Linked DNA regions of Homo sapiens: regions 1, 3, 4 and 5 are each linked to region 2. The links are contacts of gene promoters, found by promoter capture Hi-C in blood cells and fetal thymus (Javierre and others, 2016). All regions are on one chromosome and are shown on one strand. The core of a region is centred on a gene start or on the middle of the fragment in contact, and the rest is flanking DNA. Distances in the headings are between cores, read along the strand shown.

What was found. Contacts are between HindIII fragments. The CHiCAGO score rates a contact against its expected background, and 5 or more counts as called.
Region 1: the fragment with the promoter of SIRPB1 here is called in contact with the fragment with the promoter of TGM3 in region 2 in 8 of 17 cell types (monocytes, total B cells, M0 macrophages and 5 more); the score reaches 13.5 in monocytes.
Region 3: a contact is called between a fragment that was not itself captured here and the fragment with the promoter of TGM3 in region 2, in 1 of 17 cell types (neutrophils). The highest score is 5.5, in neutrophils.
Region 4: a fragment that was not itself captured here is called in contact with the fragment with the promoter of TGM3 in region 2 in 1 of 17 cell types (neutrophils); the score reaches 7.1 in neutrophils.
Region 5: a contact is called between a fragment that was not itself captured here and the fragment with the promoter of TGM3 in region 2, in 1 of 17 cell types (neutrophils). The highest score is 5.7, in neutrophils.

What each region holds. Positions count from the first base shown.
Region 1 is chr20:1,618,752-1,621,451 of GRCh38, forward strand. SIRPB1 (signal regulatory protein beta 1) reads right to left here and starts at 1,258. Exons shown (of 6, transcript NM_006065.5): 1 at 1,118-1,258. The coding sequence starts at 1,193. The HindIII fragment of the contact is 7,240 bases long and covers 1-2,700 here.
Region 2 is chr20:2,294,455-2,297,296 of GRCh38, forward strand. TGM3 (transglutaminase 3) reads left to right here and starts at 1,547. Exons shown (of 13, transcript NM_003245.4): 1 at 1,547-1,616. The coding sequence starts at 1,610. LOC105372503 (a long non-coding RNA gene) reads right to left here. Exons shown (of 3, transcript XR_937203.3): 2 at 2,738-2,836; 3 at 1,367-2,040. RefSeq lists enhancers at 2,251-2,784, 2,785-2,842. The HindIII fragment of the contact is 7,559 bases long and covers 1-1,897 here.
Region 3 is chr20:1,501,098-1,503,851 of GRCh38, forward strand. No RefSeq gene overlaps it. Among named protein-coding and RNA genes, the nearest start is that of SIRPB2, 11 kb to the left of the region's middle. RefSeq lists an enhancer at 1-34. The HindIII fragment of the contact is 8,359 bases long and covers 1-2,754 here.
Region 4 is chr20:1,533,481-1,536,284 of GRCh38, forward strand. SIRPD (signal regulatory protein delta) reads right to left here. Exons shown (of 4, transcript NM_178460.3): 4 at 771-961. The coding sequence ends at 945. The region is part of intron 2 of LOC105372499 (a long non-coding RNA gene); the gene reads left to right. Among named protein-coding and RNA genes, the nearest start is that of SIRPD, 23 kb to the right of the region's middle. The HindIII fragment of the contact is 7,989 bases long and covers 1-2,804 here.
Region 5 is chr20:1,777,981-1,780,680 of GRCh38, forward strand. It overlaps the pseudogene LOC100289473. Among named protein-coding and RNA genes, the nearest start is that of SIRPA, 120 kb to the right of the region's middle. The HindIII fragment of the contact is 6,303 bases long and covers 1-2,700 here.

The DNA of each region.
Region 1 (2,700 bases), core at 8-2,507, 680 kb before region 2:
GAGCTGTGAGCAGGGTTCTCCCAGGCTGCACCAGGAAAGGCCCTCCAATCCTGCCTGTCTTGGGAAGGGGAAAGAAATTATCCATGGGAAATTTAAGAGAACCAAAGGAGGTTGTAGTACCTGTTATGGGCTGAATGTGTCCCACAAAATGCATGTGTTGAAGCTCTAATCCCCAGCACCTCTGAACGTTACAGTTTGGGAGACAGGGTCTTTAAGAAGTAATTTAGTTAAATGAGGTCATTGGGGTGGGCCTTAATACAACAAGACTGATATTCTCATAAGAAGAGGAGATGAGGACACAGACACACACAGAGGAAGATCATGTGTTTAAGACACAGAGAGAAAATGGCCCTGTATAAGCCAAGGAGAGAGACTTCAGTAGAAACTAACCCTGCTGACACCTTGATCTTGGACTTCAGCCTCCTTAACTGCAAGGAAGTAAATATCTGTAGTTTCAGCCACCCAGCCTGCAGTTCTTTGTTATGGAAGCCCTAGGAAAGGAATATAGGACCCAGTAAGCAGCAAATGTGGAACTTCTTAAAGAGGAAGAGGCCACAGAGAAATGGGTGGTAAGAATCAGGTCACAGGGGAGGGAGGAGCATGGGGGAACAGAGGACAAAGTGAGGAGCACCCTTAGGGAGGATGGTGGCTGAACACTCCCAGGATACACCACACCACTGCCCTACTCAAGTGAGCACTATTACAGACTTCACATCCTCAGTTTGGTGAAGAGAGAGGGCTGGGCCTAGAGCCACATAACCCTGTTAGGGTGTCTCTGAGCTTACTCTGTGGACTTGGGCATGTCACTTGGCCCTAGGGCCTCAGGACTGGTGAGGATTTAGATAATGATTCTTCTCTGCTTTTTCAATTGAAATATTATCAAAATGTAAGTAATTGTTGTTGTGGTGGTTGAATCGTCCTGTGGTTCAATGCCTCTGGTAGCCAGCTGCAGATCCACAGAGAAAGTGCTCAGCTCCCTGATTTTCTGCTCTCAGTCAAAGCCTAATCCTTGGCCTTTCTTGGCAGCACTTGTCATTGTCCGGAATCCCTGAAAGTCCAGGGACAGGCCATGGCTCAGTGGGCAGGAAAAAAGATTTTAACCGAAGGCAGTGCTCACCTGTGAGTCTCCCCAGCAGTAGCGTCATCAGCAGGAAAGGACTAGGAAGGTGGGGCCAGGAGGCTGGCACGGGCATTCTGGAGACCTTAGGAGCCTGCTCTGTCCAAACGTCTGTGCTGGGAAGATCGCAGACTCTGCTCTGAGGAGAGAAGACAAGCCCTGCCTCCCTTAGTTCAAGAGGAAGTGGCTGCGATGGAGTGAAGCAGTAACCTGCTTCTGGATTGTGAAACAGAAATCAGGAACAGCAAGCAGCTACAATGCAAGCAGTTATGCATGCCCCATTTCAGGAGAATCAGACAGGCTTAGCAGAAATAATGCTTCCTTCCCACCTGAGGTCTTAACTCCTTCCATGACTCCTAACCCCATCTTTATGTCTTCTTGGTGATTTGCCATTTGGTGCTCTTAAGCCAGGAAGGACCTGTGGTTATGAAATGTTTCCTAAACTTTCCATCTCAAGACCTCAGGATGTGGTTGGCTTGTGGTCTCATTCTACAACAGCCTCAACCAAGTGCTACTCAGTTGGGGCAGGATGAGGGATCACTGGACCTGCTCAGTGTTGGAGAGGAACAGGTCTGCTCTTGAAATGGTTCCCTATTCCGAACTTTTATAAATATAAATGGCAAAACTTAGCCCAAATTCAGTCTCATGTGGCCGTTAGCACTTTCATATGCCTGCACCCAGCAGAAGGAATTATTTCCTGACTTCTTCCAGGAGAGGAAGTGGGCTTAGGGTAATAAGGATCTGCTTTGTGAGGTGAGGTGGGGATTATGGGTTATGGAAAGGGGATATGTTTATTATGGGGGAGAATATGGAGGGCAGATTCCTGGAGCAGTCACATCGATTTCAATACTCTTTGCTCTGCACATAGAACACCTATTCCATTCATCACTGTCTTCAGATGGGAACTGAGGAGGGAGGGAGAATAAATACCCTAAGAAGATGTGCTAAGGAGTTGGGGAAGTTACTGGGCCTGCCTAGGTTCAGTTTTGCCTTCTAACCTTGGGATAATAAGTCTCACTGCCATGTTTTAGTGAACATCAAAAGAGATAATGACTATACATCCCTGAGATTCAGTAGGTTATTATTGATACTCATGGTGCCAGGTGAAGAGAGGGAACTCAAATATTGCTTTTAAATGGATTTCTACTGCATGCTGAGTTTCCCACCAGTGGCCTTCTCCCATGTTCCCCGGACTTCTGGAACCCAGCTTTTATGGTGTACTTGGTCTACCTCTGACACTCTGAGATCAATTTCTCCCTCTGGATCCTCTTCACCCTGCTTTTTGTCAATCTGTAGATGAATTCCTTTTCTTACAATCTCCAGCTGTGTGACTTTCAACAAGACACTTGACTTCTCTAAGCCTTAACTTAATTACATGTAAATGGAAGTTATAACATGCACCTTGTAGTGATATGGTAAGAGTAATATAAGCCATACAGAAGGTTTGATTCATATTTAATTATAACCAAAAAATTGTGGCTATAATTACATTTGTGTACAGGGTGAGTTCACTGCTTCCCTGACATACTTGTGCTTTAGAAAAATTTCCTTGGTAGGAGAAATGGTTTCTCCTCCATCATCTG
Region 2 (2,842 bases), core at 297-2,796:
AATAATAGCCCCTTTGCATAGGGTTGCTATGAAGATGAGAAAAGCTAATATATGTAAAGTGTTTAGCCAGTGCCTGCCCACAGTAAACACTAAATCAATTAGTTATTATTAGTAAGCACTAAATCGGTAGTTATGATTCCCATCTTTACAGTGATATTGATTCACTTATTCAAGAATGTGCATGTTCCAGCCACGTGTCAAGCCCTGTGCTAGATTCTGAGAAGAAGATTTGAATGATATGCAACCTGTACCTTCAAGGAGCTCAGTCTGGAGATGGGGACATATATAAACAGATAGTTCCAGTGCAGTGGATACATACGGTAATAGAGGTTCTAAGATGTACAAAAGGCTGTAGGGGCCTAAAGGACGGAGAAAGGACACTGATTTCTCTTTTTCAATTTTCCAAGCCACCTGCCTATTCCGTCTTCTCTTTCTCGAGATCAAACATTCTCACTTCTCTCTAAAGACCCAACCTTGTCATCATGGTGCTCAATCTTCCTTCCACACTGTGATGCTGGGGAAAGCCTTGGGGCATTTCTGTTCTCTCGTGAATCCTTGAAGCCTCACTTTAAAAAATATATACTCACTCCTTTGTCCATCGTAAACCTTGATATTTGTAAATATCGATAATAGGAACTTTGAAAAAACATACGCCCTTAGAAACAAGCAAGCAAACAAAAACACGTAGAATGTCAGAGCTTCTCCCCACTCCACACCCTTTCTTTAAACTGATGTCAAGGTGGGCCCAGTGAGGGTCAGTGACGGAACCTGCAGTCTGAGAAAGACATGGCAGAAGCATAAGGTTAGAGGCTGTTCCTGCTGCCTCATTAAAAACAACAATTTTCCCCCAAATCTGGACTGAAACTGACATTCAACGCCAAGTGTGATCTCAGTTTAACCTGCCCTGGTAGATATGCATACACTTCCCATGCGCACCATCTCATGTGATCGTGTCCACAGCTTTGTGAGTTGAGAGGGGTGGGAGTGATTATCCCCAACCACAAGCAAGGCTTCCGGGCTTCAAGGGTTGGAGACCACCCAGGGCTCGGCCAGCATCAGAACCAACGGCTTCTAATTCCAAATCAAATGATGGTTTATGCCACACTACAACCCTAAACAAATGAACTGTGATGTGTCTCACTTCCCTGTGCAAGTGGAAGATGCTAATACATGTGTATCATGAGAAAGGACCTCACAATTTTCTTCTTCTGGGTTCTGCTGAGACGTTTCTTTGATTCAGAGAGAACTTCCCAGGATCAGCAAGAAAAGCATGTCATCATTTCCTAAACCCTACAATCCAGGAAATAGTCCATCATTTTATAAAATTATAAAAGCGAACTATTTGAGTTTCTTTATTATCTGCCCCCTTCTCCCCAAGCTGGTCTTGTACAAACATGATGCACGTCCATTGGGTGACAAGTCTGTCGTAAGTGAAACGTTTACAGGCACTACAGGAATGACCTGGTGCCTCGCCCACTTCATTAGAATTCTAATTGGGGTGTGTAGGAGAGGATTCTATAAATGGTAAGGCAATCCTTGGCAGCCTGTCTGTCAGCACTGTCCGTGCCATTCCCAGAGGAGCCTGAGAAGAGGCAGAGGAAGGCGAAACATGGCTGGTGAGTGCATGGCATCTTCTCCATCAGGTCCTTGCCAGAAGCCTGTGCTTCCCCTGGGCCAGCCTGCCAAGCCAGAGTGTCCGGCCAGGACAGCTGCCTGCCTTGGGGGCTCTGAAGGCCAGACTTCCTATTTTAGGGTGCTAGCCAGAGGCGGCTCTTTCTCAGTGGTGGTTGGGTCCCTCTAGCATATTCTTGGGGTAGAACATCATTGGAATGTAGCTCTGAATAATGGGCAGGGTGTTCAGTGCAGCTGGACATCGCATCTCCTTAGGCAGAGGACAAGCTTTGCCTTGTTTGTGTTTGCGTTTCTTTTACACATCCGTCGCCACCCGTAAAGCCAAAGCAGACAGGACTCGGGTCTCGTGTTTCTCAGTGTAGCTGTATCCAGCTGTCAGCAGTGTCAGCAAAGAAGCACATCTCAGAACTACCAGGGAGTGAGAGTGGTAACATGTAAGTTGATTTGAAAGAAACCATTGTTTATTTCAAATCAACTTACTTAGGAGCATTAGGAATGCTCCTAAGTAAGCTACACATCAGAAGCATCAGACAGGCTCTGTGTAAGTGACTTGATGAGCTGAAGCCTCCCCGTAGCAGGAGCAGGTGTGCCACAAGATGTCCTGGTCCACAGGAGAGCACCAGGGAACAGGGGTTACAAAGAACAACAGGAAGTGCAGGTTCCCCCACTCTATGCTTACTGTCGAGGATATGGGCCTTTGTTAATCAGCACCCCTGCTAAGCAGCATGCTAATTATTATCTGTCTTGTGTGCTCAGCCTAGTAGGTTGACAGGGACGCCAAATCCAAACAAGATATGAGTCAAACTTGTAAAATATTGTGAATGGCGATTAGGGCTGCTGGAAGATTGGCCAAAGACATCACTGAGCCAAATGCAACAGGCAAATGCTGGCTACTTCAGAAGCCACAAAAACTGGGACAGGTGATTGCACATTAGGCCCCCTCCCCTGTCTCCCATTCCTTGCTGTAATGTACAGCATGGCTGGGATGCTAAGAAGAGGAGCTCTGGACCCTACACACTGCAGCAAGAGGGGAGGTCAGATGTCATCTAGCCCATCTCCCTCCCTCCAGGAGGTGGCTGAGGCCCAGGAAGGGGTGGAACCTTACACACAGTGAATCCATCGCAGAGCCAGCTAGGTCTCAGCAGTGCCCTTTCCACCATGTCCTGCTGCCAGAGCTGAGCTCCTACATAAGTGCACATAACATCTGGAA
Region 3 (2,754 bases), core at 184-2,683, 790 kb before region 2:
GCTTGTGTCTCAGTAGGTTGCATGTTCCCTCAGTCCACTGTCTCTGGGCCCAGTTCAGCACTAGAACTTGCCTAGGAGTTGTAGCTCTTGGAGCCTAGACTGCCTTTCAAGTTTATTTAGAGCCCCAGAGTACTTTAGCCCACAGTGGTAAGGCTTGCAGGAACTGAAGTTCAGACCACTGAGATTGGATTAGCAATTCCCCTCTGGCTAAGGCTGTTTAAATGCTCCCTCTTTGGGTGGGTAACAGCTGAGTTTGGTCCCATTTTGTTTTCTTTTATAATAGGGCAGCACTGAGTTCAATGCTTCACAACTGCTGTGATCTCCCTTTCCCCAGTGCACAGAAATGCTCTCCACACCATGCTGCCACTGCCAGGGGTTAGGAGAGGGGTGGTGTTGGCTATTCAAGACTTTTTTTCTACCTCTTCGGTGCCTCTTTCAGTGATATGAAGTAAAACCAGGTATTGTAACTGCTCATTTGATTTTTAGTTCTTATGAAGGCTCTTTTATTTGTGTGTACACAGTTGTTAAATTAGTGTCCTTCCTGGGGGAGATGATTGCTGGAGGCTTCTATTCCATCATCTTGCTCTGTTGTTTTTATGTTTTCTCATTTATCTCTTTTAACTGAGGTATTTATTTGCCTTTAAAGTAATTACTGACATGGAAGGACTTACTATTTTCGTTTTGTTACTTGTCTATATATATGGATAATACATTCAATATATTTTAATATGTCTTGTCCAGTGGTTTTTGCTCCTTTTCTCCTTTGCTGCCTTCTTGTATGTTTTGTACTGACATATTTTGATTCTCTTTTCAATTCTGTTTGTGTATACAGACAGTACCTGAATGTAAGCCCAGCATAAGATAAAAAGTTCCTATGATTTACAATGGGGTTATGGTTTCTACTAAATGTGTATTATTTTGCATAATTGTAGAGTTGAAAATTTGTAAGTTGAACATAAGTCAGGGACAGTATGCTGTGTTGCCAGCATCAAATGCAATTTTGACTTACAATATTTTTGACTTCTGATGGGTTTATTCTTATGTTATCCCATCATAAGTTGAAGAGCATTGGTATTCTATTCATATTTTATTTGTCATCACCATTGCAACTACACAAAGAGACTTAAAGTTATAGCAAGATATTTTAAACCGATAACAACTTAACTTAAATTGCATATAAAAACTCTACTTCTTTACTTCTCTGCCCTCTTTATGTTACTGTAACAAAACAAATTACCTCTTTTTATATTGTGTATTCATCAACATAGATTTTTAGTTACTTCCCATGCTTTCGCTTTTAAAATTCTATACCAAATTCAAAAGTGATTTATACAGCTATGTTACAATACTTCCAGATTTTATATTTGTCTCTATGTTTATGTTTACCTGGTAGATTTATACTTTTGTATGGCTTTGTGTTGCCATTCATCATCTTTTCATTTCAACTTGAAGGATTCCTTTCAGCACTTCTTTCAGGGCAGGTCTAATGGTGATGAATTCCCTCAGTTTTGTTTATCCAGGAAAGTCTTCATTTCCCCTTCATTTTGAAGGCAGTTTAGTACTATATAGTATTCTTTGTTGGCAGTTATTTTTTCTCTCATCACATCCCACTCCTTCTAGCCTACAAGGGTTCTGTTGAGACTTTAGCTGATGATTTAATAGGAGCTCCTTTGTATGTGACAAGTTGCTTTTCTCTTGCTGCTTTCAAGATTCACTCTTTGTCATTTTTTTTTTAAAACAAAGTTTCCCTCTGTCACCCAGGCTGGAGTGCAGTGGCGTGATCACATCTTGCTGTAGCCACAAATTCCTGGGCTCAAGTGATCCTCCCACTTCAGCCTCTTTTCTATTTTTGACAGTTTAATTGTGTCTTAGTGTAAATGCTGTTAGATTCGTCCTGGTTGGAGCTTGTTGAGCTTTTTGAATTTGTATGTCTACTTTTTCCCTCAGATTAGAAAAATTTCCAGCCATCATTTTTTTTAAAAGTCTCTGTGGTGCCTTCTCTTTTTCTTGTCTGTCTTAGATTCTCATAGTGTGTAGGTTGTTCCATAATGTTACACATAGTGTCCCATAAGTTTCTTATGCTCCTTTTACTTTTCTTAGTTCTTTTTTTCTCCTTTGCTTCAGTAATTTCAAAACTCCTGTCTTTGAATTTGCTGATTCTTTCTTCTCTTGGTAACATCTGTTCCTAAGCCCCTCTAGTGGATTTTTAAATTTAGTTATTGTATTCTGCAGTTCCAGAATTTCTGTGTGGTTCTTCTTCATAGCTTCTATCTCTTTTTTGATATTTTCTTTTTGTTCATCCATTGTTTTCCTGATTTCATTTAGTTGTCTGTCTGTACTCTCTTTTAATTCATTGAAAATTCTTATGATTATTATTTTGCATTTTTTTGGTCAGATAATTCGTGTATTTTTTTGGGGTCAGTTTCTAGAGATGTAATGTGTTTCTTTGAATAGGCCATGTTTTCCTGTCCCTTTATATGTCTTCTTATCTTCTCTTGGTACTTTGGCATTTGAAAACTCAGCTACCCCGTGCAGTCTTTGTGGTCTGGTTTTCTACAGGGAGGACTTTCTCCAATCAGCCTGGCTAGAGAATCTGGAGACCTGTCAACCCTTCTCTGGGAATGCACCCTTTTGGGACTTAGTGTGTAATCACGTAACGGAAGAGGTCTTTCTATTGAAGCGCTCCCTCTAGTGTCTGCCTATGATGCTGCGGTCTGGCTGGTGCTGCAGTAAGCCACGGTACTGAAGTTCCAC
Region 4 (2,804 bases), core at 62-2,561, 760 kb before region 2:
CTTCATGTAGGCTTCCTTTCTGGAATTTCACACAGTAGTAGGTGCCGGCTCTGCTGGTGTGATGCTTCTGATACAGATGGAATAGTTTGTGCTCTTTCTATTTGTGATGTCTGAAACAGTTCTTATCCAGGGGAAGTTGCCTTCTTTTTGACTGTAGATTAATTCCCGGCCTGGTCCAGCTCCTCTGAACCACTGGATGGGCCCTACGGGGATCAGGGAGGTCACAGTGCAGTGTAGAGTGGCCGCTTCTCCAGCTGCGACTGACACGGACTTCTCAGGCTGAATTACCCGCAGCTCCTCCTCACCCGCCACTCCTGGAAGAACACACGTCAGCTCCAAGCTCCAGCTGGGGATGAGGCTGCGGTCCAGGTGCCTGGGTTCAGATTGCATTTGAAGCCCCATTCATTCTTTCTTTCCATATCATGTATTAGCTTTTAGGATGGGCACATTCCTTAACTGGGTATCAAGAGAGACATAGAGACAAGATAGACAGACAGCCCTTGCTAAGGACACAGTCAGGAAGTCAAAAGAGAAGAAATACTTCTAGAAAAGATGTTCAACAACACCAGTAATCCAGTGAAGTGCATAGTTAAACCACACACAAATTGCTAACGTCCATGACAGACTAGCTGGAAAAGTTTTTAAAAAAAATGTACGCAGGTTTCAGCATATGAAAGTTAGAGCACATTTTCAGGCTGCAATAAATAGTAGAGGCAGGTTGGTACCAAGGCAAGCAGAGAGGTCGATGAAACAGAAGAGAGAACCTGGAATTGGACCCAGGTAAATAGACAGATTTATTGTACGATCAAGCTGGCATTTTATGTCAGTGGAAGAAAGCTCTCTTGAAGAAGGCAAATGAAACTCCTAAAAAGTAGCTGTCTCCAGGGAGTCAGAAGAGTATGGGGGCTTTTGTTATTTACTTGTACGTTCCTTCCCTGTTTGGATTATTTTGACAGCAAGCCTGAAATACAATAAAAATAAAATAAAATAAAACATTTCTCCCTCCTGCAAGCTAAGAGCAGACACAATTTTTAGAATATTAGCTTAGCAAACATGAAAAAGATTGCCAATTTTCTGTGTTGCTAAGGTTGTGGTGAGGCAGGCGCTCCCACATACTGCTGGTGGGAATAACAATGGACACGATCTCTCTAGATGGCAATACAGCATCACAGTCATGATCTTATGATCTATGTCCACGTGACAAACCCATATTTAAACAAGTAAAGTGGAGATACTTTAACCAAATCTGTTTTGGTCCCAAATGTTCAAAATACCCCCTGTCCATTGCTGCTGCTTCTGTGCTGGGTGTGGTGAGATAATATATTACTGATATTGAGACACTCACGTTTCATTGGGAAATGGCTTTTGAAACCAAAAAACACTTTTGAAATGCAATTTCCCAATAAAACTCATACCCTTTGATTTAGTAATTCCTCTTTGACGGCCTTATTCAAAAGAAACAATCAGACAAGGGTGAATATGATTTGTAAAGGAATGGTAATCATAGTATTTACAATATAGAAAAGTTTGATGCATGGCCCATGTCCAAGAATAGGAGTGAGTTAGATAAATGATGGTACAACCACAAAATGGAAAACTATGTAGAGATTGAAATGATAGTGTTGATGTATATATTGGGGATGTATTGATGATGTTGCAGACACATATATATTTACATAGAAAAGGGTCCCCAATTTATCATTGAGTAAAAGAACAAATAAACCACCATATTTTGTGTAATCTTATTTTTGTTAAAAGTTCGATGTATCTAGAAGCAGCACAGTGAAGAGGTCAAAGTAAGAGCTAGTGGAGTCCCATTGACCCAGGTTTCAATGCCTCCTCTATTGCTTGATTGCTATAGTTTAAATATTTGTCCCCTCCAAAATTCATGTTGAAATTCAATCCTCAATGTGCAGTATTGAGAGGTAGGGTCTTTAAGAGGTGATTGGGTCATAAGGACTCTGCGTTATTTCACAAATTAGTGGATTAATGGGTTATCATGGGAGGGGAACTGTTGGTTTTATAAGAAGAGAGAGAGAGACCCAAGTATAGTATGCTAGCATGCTCAGTCCCCTCACCATGTGATACCCTGTGCTGCCTCAGGACTCTTTAGAGAGTCCCCACCAGCAAGAAAGCTCTCACCAAATATGGCCCCTTGACCTTGAACATCTCAGCCTTTACAACTATAAGAAATAGGTTCTTTTTCTTTATAAATAATCCAGTTTCATGTATTCTATTCTAAGCAACAGAAAAAGGACTGACATTGGTGTTTTACTTTGCGAAAATAACCTCCCTGAGGCTCTGTTTTCTTATCTATGTAATGTATACAATGTGGAAAGTAAAACTTCCTCTTGCAATTTTGTTGTGATACTGAAACCTGAAAATCTTTGAGAAACACTCAGGACTGTGCTCATAGAAGGACTTCTGTGAAATGGGCTTTCCATTCTTAACTGCAAGTCCAGTAGGCCAGGCTCCAGCCCTGACAACCTGGTGATTCTAGGAAGCGCACACCATTGCTTGGCTTTCAGTTCCTTCTTCTACCAAGCCTGATGGACCTTTCTCAGTTCCCATGACTTCTGTGAGTTCTAAGTGAAGACATAGACTTGCCAAAGACACAGAGTGAGAGTTGCAATGGCCGGATGCAGCAGGACTATTTTCGTGGGCTCATATTTGCACTTATTAAGCCCTAAAAGGCTGTAACAACCAGAGCTCACATAGGTGGTTCTGTGTGCTACACATTACTCCAAAAACTTAACTATATTAATTAACTAGTTTGATTCTCACCACAACTGTATTGGAAAGGC
Region 5 (2,700 bases), core at 141-2,640, 520 kb before region 2:
AGGGGGAAAAGGAAAGGGAAAGGAGGAGGAGGATCTGTTTGACCCCGTGTAAGGGCCTGTCCTGACCCCATGTAAGGGTCTGTCCTGACCCCGTGTAAGGGCCTGCCCTGACCCTACGTAAGGCCGTGCATGGACCCTCTTTTCCAGCTGAATTCAGAATTCTGGCCTCTGTTTAAAGTTGCCATCCAGAAACTTTCAACTGTGCCAGTCTTGATTAATAGCCTTTCTAGAAGGCACTTTGGTGCTCAGCAGTCCTTAACCTCTGCCATTTCTTGCAGTCAAGTGTTAAGGTGGAGAACTTTCAACATCAAGAATGCATGGAATTAGGGAAGGGGAGTCCCACCCTTTCTTCTTGGGGAGGGTGTGGAGGAAGGCGTGAGAAGTGGAGTCTGGGGGCGAATGTGTGAGAGTTGTATCACCAGCTGCGGGTATCCTTCCTTCCTTCACCATCATCCAATGCCGCCCTGAGTCTCTGACCCTCCCCAGCCGTGCTGCCCACAGGGGATGTCCAGAGGGGCTGGGCCAGAGGCTGTACCCACCTTTCCCCTGCCTGCGCACCTGGGCTTGCAGGGTGACGTTGGCCTTGAGTGGGGGCTGCTCATCGTGGACCACCCAGCAAGCAAACTCACGCTCCTCCAGCGTGGCCTCTGCCTGCCACGTGTGCTCCAGAGAGTATGTCCCATCTGGATTTCTGGTGGCCTGAGGGGACGAGGGGACACCAGGGTCTGGATCATGCTCCTGTTCTCCATCCAGGTGAGTCGCAGGTGGGCGGGATAGAAGTGGAGGACGTGGCAGGTGAGATTCACTCTGTCTTGCACATGTACATGGGTCCCAGAGGTTTCAGTGGTGATCTTCAGGGTGGGGACAACTAGACAGAGGAATAGGAAGTAAGACCTGGTGAAATCAGCCCCTGCCTGTGGCCACCCATGCTTCCCTCTCCCAGGGAACAGCCTCAAGGTCTCTCGCCTTTTTTTAAAGAAATATTTTTTTCTTGTATGCGTAATGTAAAGCAAATAGGGCTAAATGTTAATATTCATTAAATATGGGTAAGGGTACCTGGGTGTCTGCTATATTCTGTATTTTTGAAATATTTCATATCAGAAAATATAATTTTAAGAATTAGTAAAAGGTGATGCCCATGACGACAGGGACTTTATTTTGCTCGTTGCTGCATCCCCAGCACTGAGCACAGGGTCTGGCATACAGTGGATATTCATTATTATTAAATGAATAATAAACATTTAAAAAAAAAACTGTAACAATGACATTAATAGAACAAAGATGTTTAGAAAGGGAGTCTGGGACCAGATAATAACAAGATCAAACATTCGTAAGTAAGTCACTGCATGCCAGGCACTGTTATGTGTGTTTTATAAGGAATAATTCATTTAATCTTCACAGGACAGCTATGAAGTAGGTCCTCATTTTTTTCCTGTTATATAAAGAAACTGGTATTAAATAGTCAAGTAACTCACAAGATCCCACAAGTTGTAAAGTGGCACAGCTAGGATTAAAACCCAGACAGCGAGCCCCTGGAACCTGCGCTTATAACCACAATACACATGATCAGAAATCCATGAGGAATTTCATTTCCCCATTTATGAAATGAGGCTTTGGGCAAAAACCCTGAAAGCTGGATGCTTCCAGGGTTAATGTCCACCCCACCTGACTGCCCATTCACCTCAGAGCACTTGGGAGAGATTCATGGTTGTTTTCAGGGGCTCTGCCAGGGCCCTGTGGGTGACTTCGCAGGTGATCTCAGATGAGACATCCTGTCGGGTCAGTGTCACCCATGCCTTGCTGGTGATGAAGTCATTGCCTCCATTGTCAGGCACCAGGCGCTGAGCTGAGGCTGGATGTTCATCACTGTCCTTCAACCACGTAACATTGAAGTCCCGGGAGAAGTCCTGGGAGTTGAAGGGGACAGCAGTACAGTTGAAAGGCACTGAGTCTCCAGGGCTTGTCCTGTGAGATGGACCAGTCAGAGAGATGAAGGGCTGTCCAGCTAAGGAAAGAGCAATTGTGATTGTACACTGAGAGTGGGACACACCCCACAGGCACCAGTGGCACCAGAGCTGTGTCAGGCCCTGGGGGCCTACTATATGCTGTGTCTGATTCTGTCTTCAGGCAGCATATCGGCATTTGATCATAAGAAAACAAGCAAATGCAAATGTGATTATGACTGATCCCAGTGCCATCAAGGAAACCCAAAGACTGCATAGATGGAGAATACAGGGAGGACTTATTCTAGAAGGGCAGCTGGGGAAGAATTACTTGAGGAGGTGACATCATTGAGCTGAAACTCAGGAATGAATAGGAGCCAGCAATGGGAAGGGACAGAGGAAGGACATTCCAGACAGCGGGGACAGCAGGAGAGAAGGACCTCAGGCAGGAAGGGCTTGGTGGGCTTGAGAAACTGAGAAGTCTGTAGGGGACCCTAGTGTCATGGCAAAGAGGTCCAGAGTGAGAAGAGCCTGGGGACCATGGTGATGATCTTGATTCTATTCTGAGAGTGATGGGAAACCAGCAGAGACTTTAACAGAGGGGCAAAGTGGTCTGATGTACATTTTTTAGAGGATAACTGGGGTTGTTGTGTGGAGAATGGGAAGGAGCGTGGCAGGAATGGAAGCAGGGAGACCAGTGGGGAAGCTGGTACAGACCTCCAGGCCAAGGTGATGGTAGCCTGGACTAGGGTGGTGA